Regions from separate parts of the Homo sapiens genome. Here region 1 is linked to region 2. Evidence: promoter capture Hi-C in 16 types of primary human blood cells and fetal thymus (Javierre and others, 2016). All regions are on one chromosome and are shown on one strand. Each heading gives the region's core, a stretch centred on a gene start or on the middle of the fragment in contact. The rest is flanking DNA. Distances are from core to core; before and after follow the strand shown.

Region 1 (6,382 bases), core at 2,360-4,859, 71 kb before region 2:
CAGTAAAATCATACATGACAGACCCACAGCTAGTATACTGAAGGAGGAAAAACTGACAGCTATACCTCTAAGATGTGGAACAAGAAAAGGATGCCAACTTTCACCAGTTACTCAACTTAGTACTGTAAGTCCTAACTAGAACAGACAAGAGAACAAAATGAAGCTCTCCAAATTCAAAAGGAAGAAGTCAAATTATCCTTGTTTGCAAATGATATGATCTTCCACTTGAAAAAACCTAAAGACTCTACCAAAAAACTATTCAAACTGAAAAGCAAATTTGGTAAAGTGGTAGGATACAATACTAACATACGATAATCAGTAGCATTTTTATATGCCAACAGCAAACAATCTGAAAAAGAAATGAAGAAAGTAATCCCACTTACGATAGCAACAAATAAAATACCTAGGAATAAACTTAACCAAAGAAGTGAAAGATTTCAACAACAGAAACTATAAACCATTGATGAAAGAAACTGAAGAGCACACAAAATAACAGAAATATATTCTGTGTTCATGGATTGGAAGACTGTTAAAATGTTACTGTTAAAATGTCCGTAACTCCACAAAGCAATCTATAAACTCTGTGTAATACCTACCAAAATACCAATGACATTCTTCAGAGAAATAGAAAAACTAAGCCTAAAATTTTTTTGGAACCACAAAAGACTAAGAATAGCCAAAGCCATCCTGAACAAAAAGGAAAAAACTGGAAGAATTACTCTACTTGACTTCAGATTATATTACAGAGCTATAGCAACAAAAACAGCATGGTACTAGCATAAAACAAGACACATAGCTCTATGGAACAAAATAAAGAACCAAGAAAAAAATCCATACATCTACAGCAAATTAATCTGTGACAGAGGCACCAAGAACATACTTTGGGGGAAACAACAGTCTCTCAATAAGTTGTGCTGGGAAAAATGGATATTCATATGCAGAAGAATAAAACTTGACCCCTTGGCCGGGTGTGGTGGCTCATGCATGTAATCTCAGCACTGTGGGAGGCCAAAGCAGCAGGGTCACTTGAGGCCAGGAGTTCGAGACCAGCCTGGCCAAGGAGTCCGACCAGCCTGGCCAACACAGTGAAACCCTGTCTCTATTAAAATACAAAAGTTAGCTAGCTGTGGTGGCCTGCACCTGTGGTCCCAGTTTACTCGGGAGGCTGAGGCACGAGAATAGCCTGAGCCCAGGGGATGACAGAGTGAGACTGTCTCAAAACAAAACAAAACAAAACAAACAAACAAAAAAAACGATAAAAAACAACAACAAAAAAACTTGGCCCCCGTCTCTAGGCATATACAAAAAATCAAATCAAAATGGATTAAAGACGTAAATCTAAGACCTCAAACTATGAACAGAAAACATCAAGGAAACTATCCAGGACACTGGCTGAGTAAAGATTTTACAGCAGAGTGTCAAGTGATTATTCTCTGCTTTCTTCTCATGTGAAATGTTCAGAACAGAAAGAAAATATTTTTTAAAAAGCCACTCATGGCTGGGCACGGTGGCTCAAGCCTGTAATCCCAGCACTTTGGGAGGCCGAGGCGGGAGGATCACAAGGTCAGGAGATCGAGATCATCCTGGCTAACAGGGTGAAACCCTGTCTCTACAAAAAATACCAAAAATTAGCCAGGCATAGTGGCACACGCCTGTGGTCCCAGCTACTCGGGAGGCTGAGACAGGAGTATCGCTTGAACCCGGGAGGCAGAGGTTGCTGTGAGCCAAGATTGCACCATTGCACTCCAGCCTGGGCGACAGAGCGAGACTCTGTCTCAAAAAAAAAAGAAAAAAAAAAAAAGCCCATTCATTGCACTGTGAAAAAAACAAAAAAGAACCGTTAAAATCTTGCATCTGTTTGAAAAGCAAATAAAGGACAAATAAGCCGGGCGCGGTGGTTCATGCCTGTAATCCCAGCACTTTGGGAGGCTGAGGCGGGCGGATCACGAGGTCAGGAGTTCGAGGGCAGCCTGGCCAACATAATGAAACCCCATCTCTACTAAAAATACAAAAATTAGCCGGGCATGGTGGCGCCTGCCTGTATTCCCAGCTACCAGGAGGCTGACGCAGGAGAATCGCTTGAACCTGGGAGGTGGAGGTTGCAGTGAGCCCAGATTGTGCCACTGCACTTCAGCTTACCTGCCATTGGGCAACAGAGTGAGACTTCGTCTCAAAAAAAATAAATAAATAAAAAGAACAAATAGTTGATAATGTTGTGTTTGGAGAGACAAAGTTAGCATTTGGGAATGTAGAAAAGAAACTGGAAACAAGATTTCCTTCAGGCCCTAAAACAGTTAGGCTGGGGGAACAGAGTCCTGGATTTGAGGTCCTGCTTGCCATACATTTGAAAAATGCTGGGAAAACCAGTTCCCCTGTGGAGTGTTAGAATACTTAAATGGCAGACAATTAGACTGAGTGGCTTTGATGTCCTGGGATTCTATCTAAGGAATCCTAGCTAACTTAGATGAATTTCTTGTAAATTGCAAACTTGGAGAAAAACAAAACGTAGGCTTAACCAACCACTAAATGCTAATAAATCTCTTATTACATAATCAGGAAATTTCATCCTGGACAGTCCAAATAAGGTGACTGCATAATGGCAACCGATCAATTATTAAACGTGGTTGCTTCCTCGTGCACCTTATGAAGACCTTCCCTTCAAGTTTAGCCCCAAACCAGGGCTAGGGGCTTCCAGATTCATAAATCACTGTTTGCTGGAATAAACTCCTTAACATTTCAAAGGTGCTTCAGTTTATTTTTTTAAGAGGAGAAAGGAGACCGGGCGCGGTGGCTCACGCCTGTAATCCCAGCACTTTGGGAGGCCGAGGCGGGCGGATCACGAGGTCAAGAGATCGACACCAACATGGTGAAATCTCCGTTTCTAATAAAAATACAAAAATTAGCTGGGCGTGGTGGTGGGCGCCTGTAATTCCAGCTACTCGGGAGGCTGAGGCAGGAGAATCGCTTGAACCTGGGAGGCAGAGGTTGCGGTGAGCCGAGATCGAGCCACCGAACTCCAGCCTGGCGACAGGGCGAGACTCCGTCTCAAAAAAAAAAAAAAAAAAAAAGAGGAGAAAGGAACCCACAGACCACAGCTCCTCCCACCCAGGAACCTTTCACGGGAGTCGGGACTCTCCCGACAACCCCTCCGTCATCACAGCACAATCCAGGGAAGACGCGGCGCTGCGGGCGCGGGGCTGCCCCGGGAGGGCTCTGGGCCGTGCCGAAGTCACCAGGCAGAGACCGGACAGTCACCCAGCGGCCGGGATCCCGCTGCCGGCCCGGCCCCCACCTGCGCGGGACGGGACTGAGGGCCGAGCTGCGCCAGCGGGACTCGGCCGCACACTCCGGAGCCGACCGCCGGGAGGCCCGGGGCCGCCAGCGCTGGTTCCAGCCAATTCCAACCGATTCCAACCACCCCCTCTCCCTTCTCGGGACACCCTGCTCCGCACACTCACCATTTCCCAGCTTTTGGGGGTCCCAGCGTCCTCCCTATAAATCTCGCAATACCTGCAGGCCACAGGGCGATGGAGCCTGCGGCAGTCACCCGGGACTCTCCGAGAGGCAGCAGACGGGAACCCAGCACCCCGCCGGCCGCAAGGAGACAAAGGCCCCGCCAGATCCCCAAGGCCGCCCCTTCCTCTCTGGCTGCACGCCTGATTGGACAGTTCTCACGCTAGCGCCGCTGACTGGATGGGGCTCCAGGCCCCACCCCCTCAGGTCTTGAGTGACAGGAGGTGCGATCAGACACTGGGCCGAATGAAACAAGAGTGACAGGTTTTTGGGTGCAGCCCTTTTGAAGCGACATTCCTCACGGCACTTCGACCTGGACCCACCTGCCTGGGGGATAATGGCATTTAACCTTGTATATAAGATTATATCCATTCATAAGTTTTACACACACACACACACACACACACACACACACATATATATTTCACAAATAGAAACAATGAATGATAATTATTTTAAAGTTTCCGATTTCATAACCTTCCGGGCCTCTGGTCTTTTGACCAGGCAGCCTGAGCTGTGGAAAGTGAGGCAATCCTCTCAGGCAGCAATATGCAATATAAATAAAAGGTGAGCCACGCGTGTCATTTAAAATTTTCTAGGATCTGGCGGGTCGTGGTGGCTTACGCCTGTGATCCCAGCACTTGGGGAGGCTGAGGAGGGAGGATCACATGAGGCCAGGAGTTTGAGACCAGCCTGGCCAGTATGGCGAAACCCCGTCTCTGCTAAAAGTATTTTTAAAAATTAGCCAGGAGTGGTGGTGGTCGCCTGTAATCCCAGCTACTCAGGAGACTGAGGCAGGAGACTCGCGTGAGCCTGGGAAGCGGAGGTTACAGTGAGCCGAGATCATGCCTTTGCACTCCAGCTTGGGTAATAAGAGGAAAACTCCATCTCAAAAACAAAAACAAAACAAAACAAAAAAATCGGCTGTGAAGACATTTCCTCCTGCAGAAATTTAGCCAAACAGCTGAGTATGTCTTGAAGTCATTCTTTGGTTCTTAACAGGGCAAAGCTATTTTCTAAGACCTAAACCCTGGACTGGCCATGGGGCAAACCCTCACAACACATATGGAATTCATGCACAGTTAATGCATCTCTTACCTTGAACCAGTGGTTGCTACTAATTTTGTTTCTGATTCAGCCCAGTTCTACAACTGCCCTGCTATGCACAGGGCACTGTACTAGCTGCCCTGGCCTTGGTGAACATCATTGTGGGGAGAGGACTTTGCTGGGAAAAAGTTGCATCCCCCCAGATTGAAACCATTCCACTTTCCAAATTGGAGTAAAACTGAAAAGACCTAGGGGAGCACCCAAGGTTACAACATGAATGAATAGCTCAGAATATTTAAAGTCATTTGATGGTATCATGGGTGAGTGTGTCTCACTTCAAACAAAATAAAACACTACTGTTATTCTGAGATTCTAAGTTAGGATTTATGTAAAAATATATAATAATTTTTTTGATACACAACACACATACAAAAAAATACAAAGCATTCATGTAAAGCTCTGTGAGTTATTACAAAGCAAATACAGTTGTATAACCAAGAAATAGAACCAGCATCACTCATATCCCAACAATTACTATCTGCCTCCCTTATCTACCTCCCCAGTGGTAAGTAAGATTATTATTATTATTATTATTATTATTATTATTATTATTATTTTAAGACGAAGTCTCGCTCTTGTCCCCCAGGCTGGAGTGCAATGGCGCGATCTTGACTCACTGCAACCTCCACCTCCCGGAATCGAGCGATTCTGCTGCCTCAGCCTCCCGAGTAGCTGGGATTACAGGCGCCTGCCACCACACCCGGCTAATTTTTGTATTTTTAGTAGAGACAGGGTTTTACCATATAGGCCAGCCTGGTCTCGAACTCCTGACCTCAGGTGATGCACCCGCCTTGGCCTCCCAAAGTGCTGGGATTACAGGCGTGAGCCACTGTGCCCTGCCGATTTTTTTTTTCTTTTTTTGAGACAGAGTCTAACCCTTTCACCCAGGCTGAAGATGCTCTAGCGATCCTCCTACCTCAGCCAACTGAGTAGTTGGGACTACAGGCACACAACCACCACAACTGGTTCATTTAAAGATCTTAAGAGCTAACATTGTACATCACTTTTGCCTTTTCATACAAGCGTTTTATTACAGAAAATTTTAGCCATATACAAAATAAACGAAATAGTATAATAGACCCGTCACCCTGATTCAAGAACTACTCATCTTGTGCCATTTTTCTTTCATCTATGCTTCAACCCATTCTGCACCCACTGCTGTATTTTTTTAGTTCCTTTTTTTTTTGCATGAGGTCAGATGTACACACATTGAAAGGCACAAATCTTAAATGTACAGTTTTTAAAAAATAAAATATACCCATATAAGCTTCACCCCTTTTAAGAATGGAATATTTTCATCATTCTCAGAAAACTTCCTCGTATTTCTTCCCAGGCAGTTTTTTTCTACTTTCAGAGGCTGTGTTGATTTATTTTCACTCTAGGTTCATTTTTGCCTGAAGCCATACAATATGCATTTTATTCCACTTTGTCTCATATACCCAGCTTGTGAGATGCAGTCAGGGTGTGTGCTTCAGTGGCTTGTGTCTTCGTACTGCTGGGTAGCATCCTGTTGTATGAATATCCGCTCTACAATTTGCTGAACCATTTTTCTGTTGATGGACATTCGGGTTGTTTCCTATTTTGGGTTTTTATGAACAAAAGATCTATAAATATTCTTGTACAAATACTTGTTATATTTAATGTAATTCCTTTTTAGAATTTGAGTGACGTGTGTTTTTAGTGGGATGACTGGTGATGTTGAGTACCTTTTTATATGCCTGTTGGCCATTTGTATGTCTTCTTTGGGAAAAATACTCAATCT
Region 2 (6,838 bases), core at 3,837-6,336:
ACACATACCCCATAAGCTCACAGATCAGTTCCACAACACTGCCCACATTGCACATGCCAGTTGCAAGCCTGAGGGGCCCATCTATCCTTCTGACCAATTGCTCATAAGTCAGAGGTTCCCATCACCCCTTCCTCAGGTTTGATAACGTGAAAAACAACTATGCCCAGAACTCAGCAAAAACAATTTACTGATGTTTACCAGTGTATTATACAAGATGTGACTCAGGAACAACTCAATGGAAGAGTTGTAGAGGACACGGGAACATAGCAGGGGAAGATGGGGTGAGTAGGTAATCCTGTTAAATATATGCAAGTTAAAAAACAAACAACAAAAACATTCTTTGTGTTCTCCAGGAACAGCTTGGTGAAAACAAACACCTTCTCATTATGACTTAGATGATGCTTCCTTTACGTACAATAAAGCCAGAAACAGACAGCGTAATTTTTTTTTCGCCTCTTAACTAATTAGCTGACCAAATTTGTCTTCAGTGGTCAGAACAAAATACTTGCTAACCAAATTTTACTTAAGTTTCCCTCCTTCCCTCAGGCCCCTGAACTCTGATATACCCTCAGCCTGAGCCAACATACAACCCCTCTTTATGCCTCTCCTGTGAACAGGCTGACCTCAGGGTGAAATGTTCTCTGATCTAGAATCCATCCGGCCCTCTTCCTCTCCTCTTTTTTCTAATCTAGTTTGCTCCTTCCTATGAAAGAAAGCCCTTTTCTGCCTAACCTTTAACATGCTTGCCACTGTTATACCCAGTGTTTTTCCTCATTGCAATACTTCAGAATAAACTCCCTTCTTACATAATTCTGAATTTACTTTATTGCAGCAGTTCCCCACCTTTTTGGCATCAGGGATCAGTTTCATAGAACACAGATTTTCCATGGATGGTGGGGATAGTTTTGGGACCACACTGTTCTACCTCAGATCATCAGGCATTAGATTCTCATAAGGAGCACACAACCTAGATCCCTCCCATGCACAGTTCACAGTAGGGTTCGTGCTCCTCTGAGATTCTAAAGCCACCACTGATCTGACAGGAGAAGGAGCTCAGGTGGTAATGTTCACTCACCTGCTGCTCACCTCCTGCTGCATGGCCTGGATCCTAACAGGCCACCGACAGGTACTGCTCCATGGCCCAGGGGTTGGGGACCCCTGCTTTATTGAATAATGTCTAGAAAGAATGCCAGGACAATGAAAATTACACCCTTAAAAAGGGGATCTCATCCTTTCAATCCAGGCCCAACCACATCCACCTGTGAACACCAGATTTCCAGAACTCTGTAGCTTCTCTCAATATAAAGAGCTCCTTTCATGGCTGAGGTGAGCAGGCTGGGACATCTGTAAAGGGAGGCTCCCAAGGAAGAACTGAGTGAGGCACTTACGTTTAATACCTCAACTGGAAAAGCCAAAGTATCTATCCCTATCATATAATAAATATGTCATTTATTTATTATTTCCATGATAACAAATCATCTCCAGGAGTTGCCAAGTCCTATCCCATAAAACTTAGCATTAAACTCCAATGTCCAGATAACAGGATAAAAAACAGGGTTATCCACTGTTATAAATTCTCCACCCTGCAAAAAGGAGGCACTGATGTTTTGATAAATATTTATAATTCACCAATTTATCTACAACACTTGCTTGTGGAAATGTATTCATTTTTCTGCAGCCATAATGGAAAAGAGATTTTTCATATTTTTCCCTGGTAACATTTTGATATAGTTTGGCTGTGTCCCTACTCAAATCTCATCTTGAATTGTAACTCCCACAATTCCCACATGTGGCAGGAACGTGGTGGGAGGTAATTGAATCATGGGGGCAGGTCTTTCCCCTGCTGTTCTGGTGATAGCGAATACGTTTCATGAGATCTGATGGTTTTAAAAACTGGAGTTTCCCTGCACAAGCTCTCTCTCTCTCTGCCTGCAGCCATCCGCGTAAGACGTGACTTGCTCCTTGTTGCCTTCCGCATGATTGTCAGGCTTCCCCAGCCATGTGGAAATATAAGTCCTTTAAATCTCTTTCTCTTATAAATTGTCCAGCCTCAGGTATGTCTTTATCAGCAGCATGAAAACAAACTAATACACATTCCCAAAGCAAAGTCCTAGAATTCCATTTGAAATCTCCTTCAAAAAAGAACAGACTTGAGAAACTTACTACACTCACTCTTGGGAAGAAAAAGGTTAACAAGAATTTTTAACAAATGGAATATGAATAGATTTTTGCCCCCTTGAAATCCACCTCCTTCTTGTCTCTTTGGAAATATTTTTTTTTAATCTTTCAAGCTCTCTGAATAAAACATATTTTAAAGTTAATGAAAAACTGAAACTGAACTAAGTGAATAAATCTTTTCAAGGCAATAAACTCAGGGAGGGGTCATGCTGGCAGAACACAGACATCTCTGGGTCAAGAGTCAGGTCAGGTCACTGCATCACTTTGGAGATCCTCACAGGCCCATTCTCCTCACAGAAATACTCAATGACCACCCTCCCAGGAGACACTGTACTGTGCCCCACTGTGTGCTTGAATTTTTTTTTTTTTTTTGGGACGGAGTCTTGCTCTGTCACCCAGGCTGGAGTGCAGTGGCGTGATCTCAGCTCACTGCAAGCTCTGCCTCCTAGGTTCACGCCATTCTCCTGCCTCAGCCTCCTGAGTAGCTGGGACTACAGGCGCCCGCCACCATGCCCGGCTAATTTTTTGTATTTTTAGTAGAGATGGGGTTTCATCACATTAGCCAGGATGATCTCGATCTCCTGACCTCGTGATCCGCCCGCCTCGGCCTCCCAAAGTGTTGGGATTACAGGCGTGAGCCACCGCACCTGGCCTGTGTGCCTGAATTTCTAAGCCCTTTTCTGCCTAAACTTTAACATGCTTGCAGCTCTTATACCTGGTGTTTTTCCCCATTGCAATACTTTAGAATAAACTCTCTTTTTTTTTTTTTTCTTTTTCAAACTGAGTCTCCCTCTGTCACCCAGGCTGGAGTGCAGTGGCACCATCTCAGCTCACTGCAACCTCCACCTCCTGGCCTCAAGCGATTCTCCTGCCTCAGCCTCCTGAGTAGCTGGGATTACAGGCATGCACCACCAGACTGGGCTAATTTTTGTATTTTTAGTAGAGACAGTGTTTTGCCATACTGGCAAGGCTGGTCTCAAACTCCTGACCTCAAGTGATCTGCCTCCCTTGGCCTCCCAAAATGCTGGGATTACAGGCGTGGGCCACCACGCCCAGCCAACTCTCTTCTTACATAATTCTGATGATGGTGCTTTTCTGGTTCTTGCACCACCTCACTGGGGTGGGTATTCCTTGTCCTTTGAGATAGTTTTTCTCCTTTCCCAAGTCCGAGAAAATCCAGAGCGCAGGAATCATTTCTAGATTTTTCCCTTAATACCAGCATCTGACTGGCTGCCACCAACGTGTCTCCAAGGAATGATGAAAACTGGGGTTGGAGGAAGAAAATCCCAATGCACCAGGGATTTGTTTTTTAAACGAAGAGTATACTAGGAGACGTCTCTCAACTCCAGGGCACCCAGATGCTGCCTGGAGAGGCTCTACTTCCATATTTTAAACTGTCCTCTGTGAGGAGATGACCCAGGAGAAGGTATTCATTAGACACTCCAAGAGATCTGGCTGCTAAACAGAGGACCAAGAAAAGATATAAGGGTGGCTGAGGACATATCACCCTCTAAAGTTTCCAAAAGGGAACTTCACCCCAAAGATACTCTGGTAAGATGTGCACACTCAAAAAAGATAAAATTAGGAGATGCACAAAGACTTTTTTTTTCTACAATTAACTGTCAGGTGATTATTTTCTGCTTTCCACTCATGTGTAATGTTCAGAAATATTTTAAGAGTGAAAACAAATATTTTCAGAACGACTCACTACTCTGAAAAAAATAACACACTTCATCTGTATGAAATGTACAATAAAAGACAAATACTTGATAATGTTGCATTTGAATATAGGAAAAGAATTGGAAATTTAGGGTTTTACTACAAGCCCCAGAAGAGTTAGGCTGTGGGAACAGGGTCGTTGATGTGAGATCCTGTTGCCATACACTTAGAAATGTGGAGTGTTATGTGAAAATAATTAAACACAGGCACTAGGGAGACTGAGGTGGGGGGATCGCTTGAGCCCGAGTCCAAGACTCCATCATACACATGTACATACACACATGAATGAATAAACAACCAACCAAAACGTAACTCATGCTTGTCTTGTAAATTAATAACTTAAAGGGAAACAAAACAGCCTTAAACAACCACGAACCCACCAATTAACCTCTGGTTACATAACCAGGAGATATCTGGCTGCACAGTCTATATGGGGTGACTACATAACTGTACACGATCAATTATTTAATTGGGTTTGCTTCCTCGGGTTCCTTACAAAAAACCCTTTCCTTCCCCAAACCACAAACCACGCTGGTGGCTTCCTAACTCACGACTCTCTGCTCAAATAAACTCCTTAATATTTTAACGGCGCCTCAGTTTTCTTTCTAACAGGAGAAAGGAGGATTTGGAGACTTCACAGACCACAGCTCCTCCCACGCAGGAACCCCGAACCCCAAGTCGGGACTCTCCCCTGAGGACCCTCCCGTCGGCACCGCACGATCCGAGGGAGATGCGGGTCTACAGAGGCAGAGCTGCCCAGAAAGGGTTCCGGGCCTGGCCGAAGCGGCGGGGCAGGGACAAGCCAGGCGGCCCGGGGTCTGGCTGCGGGTCCAGCCCCGCATCCTGTGCCACTAAGGCCGCGAGGCGCCGGCGGAAACTCGGGTCGGCACCGCGGGGAGGTCCGGGTTCGCCACAACCGCTTCCTGGCGGTTCCCTTTTCCCCTTCCCGAGACACCTGGCCGGCACACTCACCATTTCCCAGTCTCCGGTGTCTGGGGTCCTCCCTAAGGACCTTCCGGGACCTGCAGGTCCCAGAGCAACAGAAGCTGCCGCGGGACCACTTGGACCTCCCAGGGATAAGGGGAAGGAGCAGCGGAGACGCACCGAGCTCGCCACATTCGCGCTGCCCAACACAAAAGCCGCGCCAGGTCCCGGAAGCTGCTCCCTCCTTTCGCGGCGCGCTTGAGAGTACAGTCCCCTTCCCAGCGCCCGATTGGACAGGGCCTTAGGCCCCGCCCCTTCAGTCCTGAGTGACGGGAGATGCAATCAGACACGGCGCTGAGTGAGGCCAGGTTCTTTCCCTGCAGTCCTTTTCTAAGGCATGGATTCTGCCCTGTGCTGAGACCTGGCGCCCCCCGGGGGACTTTCCCATTCAAGCTCATACACAGGATTATGTCCATTTATGAGTAATATTTGTGATATTTACAATTGGAAACACTATGATGACAATTATTCTAAAATTTCAGATTTCACAACCTTCCTGGCCTCTGGTCTTTTGAGGAGGCAGCCTGAATTTTTTTTTTTTTCTTGCTTCTAGTGGGATTAGAGGCAGCTTGAATTTTGAAAAGACAATGTCCTCTCAGGTAGCAACGCCCCATAGAAATAAAATGTGAGCCGCGTGTGTTCCAGTAGCAATAGAAAAGAAAACAACACGTGAAATTGATTACAATGATTTATTTAACCAAATATATCCAAAAATATTGTTTCAATATATGATCGATGTTAAGCTCGCGCCTAATTGAAGAGACTACCCAAACAGGTTAAGTGTGAGCAGCAAGGCTAGTTTACTCACTCGGGTGCGAGCGGGCTGAGTCCGAAAAGAGGGTCAGCGGAGGGTCGTGGGATTGGAGTTAGTTTTATAGGTGAGGGGTAAGCAGTGGAAAGTTACAGTCAGGGGCCGTTTATTACCGGCGGGGGAAGAATGTCACAAAGTACATTGTCACAAGAGGGAGGGGTCACAGTGTCACTAGGCTGATTGATCAGTTAGGGTAGTGCACGTCACAACGGTAAAATGCTGCAAGGTTGGCTAATCAGCTAAGACAGAAACTAGCCGTTTTTCTTCCTTTGTGGTTTTCCTGTTGTCCCAGACTTTCTGGCTCCAGGACCTTCTGGATGTACACGTGTGGGTCACAGGGATCACAATGGCTTGACCATGGCGCAGCCTGCTCAGACGGCCTTACAATCGATATATTATTAATGAAAAATCACTCTATATATTAAGCTTCCAGCATGTTTCAATTCAGCCTGCACATTTGGATACACGTGTCTGGTTTTACCACTTTATTTTAAGGTTGTTCGGGAATGTCTGCCTGTTCCTTTCATGTAACTGTTCATTATTTATTGATTACTATTTCTTAATTTCACTTATCTCAGTGAGAGTTGCCAAATAGTGGTTTTCTAATTATTTTCTCTACAGGTATTAGTTCTCATTCTTCTATTAAAAATGGCGTTTTCTCATGAACTCTCTCCATTACATTAAAACCTACCCTATTAGGAAAGGAAGAATAAAAGCTTGATTCTCCCTTTAATCAATTGTCATAACAATGACGGCGTGGCCTCAGCAAACAAAAAAAATGTGAGTGACTTTTTTCTAACCTTATTTTTTGTGTATTTAATGAGATTCCATACACTGCAGTCTGTATCTATTTTTTGAGCTCAAATTATCCCTTTTTTTTTTTTTTTTTTTTGAGACCGAGTCTCACTCTGTTGCCCAGGCTGGAGTGCAGTGTGGCATGATCTCGGCTCACTGCAACCTCTGCCCCCCGGATTCAAGCGATTCTCGTGCCTCAGCCTCCTGAGTAGCTGGGATTACTGGCACCCACCACAACGCCTGATTAATTTTTGTATTTTTACTAGAGACAGGCTTTCACCATATTGGCCAGGCTGGTCTGGAACTCCTGACCTCAGGTGATCCACCCACCTCGGCCTCCGAAAGTGCTGG

What was found. Contacts are between HindIII fragments. The CHiCAGO score rates a contact against its expected background, and 5 or more counts as called.
Region 1: a contact is called between the fragment with the promoter of ZNF695 here and the fragment with the promoter of ZNF670 in region 2, in 4 of 17 cell types (neutrophils, M2 macrophages, erythroblasts and 1 more). The highest score is 6.9, in neutrophils.

What each region holds. Positions count from the first base shown.
Region 1 is chr1:247,004,448-247,010,829 of GRCh38, forward strand. ZNF695 (zinc finger protein 695) reads right to left here and starts at 3,610. Exons shown (of 4, transcript NM_020394.5): 1 at 3,459-3,610. The coding sequence starts at 3,461. The region is part of intron 1 of ZNF670-ZNF695 (ZNF670-ZNF695 readthrough (NMD candidate)); the gene reads right to left. RefSeq lists silencers at 3,203-3,302, 3,803-3,862. The HindIII fragment of the contact is 12,382 bases long and covers 1-5,885 here.
Region 2 is chr1:247,073,725-247,080,562 of GRCh38, forward strand. ZNF670 (zinc finger protein 670) reads right to left here and starts at 5,087. Exons shown (of 4, transcript NM_033213.5): 1 at 4,870-5,087. The coding sequence starts at 4,872. It overlaps ZNF670-ZNF695 (ZNF670-ZNF695 readthrough (NMD candidate)), which reads right to left and starts at 5,087. Exons shown (of 7, transcript NR_037894.2): 1 at 4,870-5,087. RefSeq lists silencers at 4,950-5,263, 5,052-5,121. The HindIII fragment of the contact is 6,434 bases long and covers 1-6,116 here.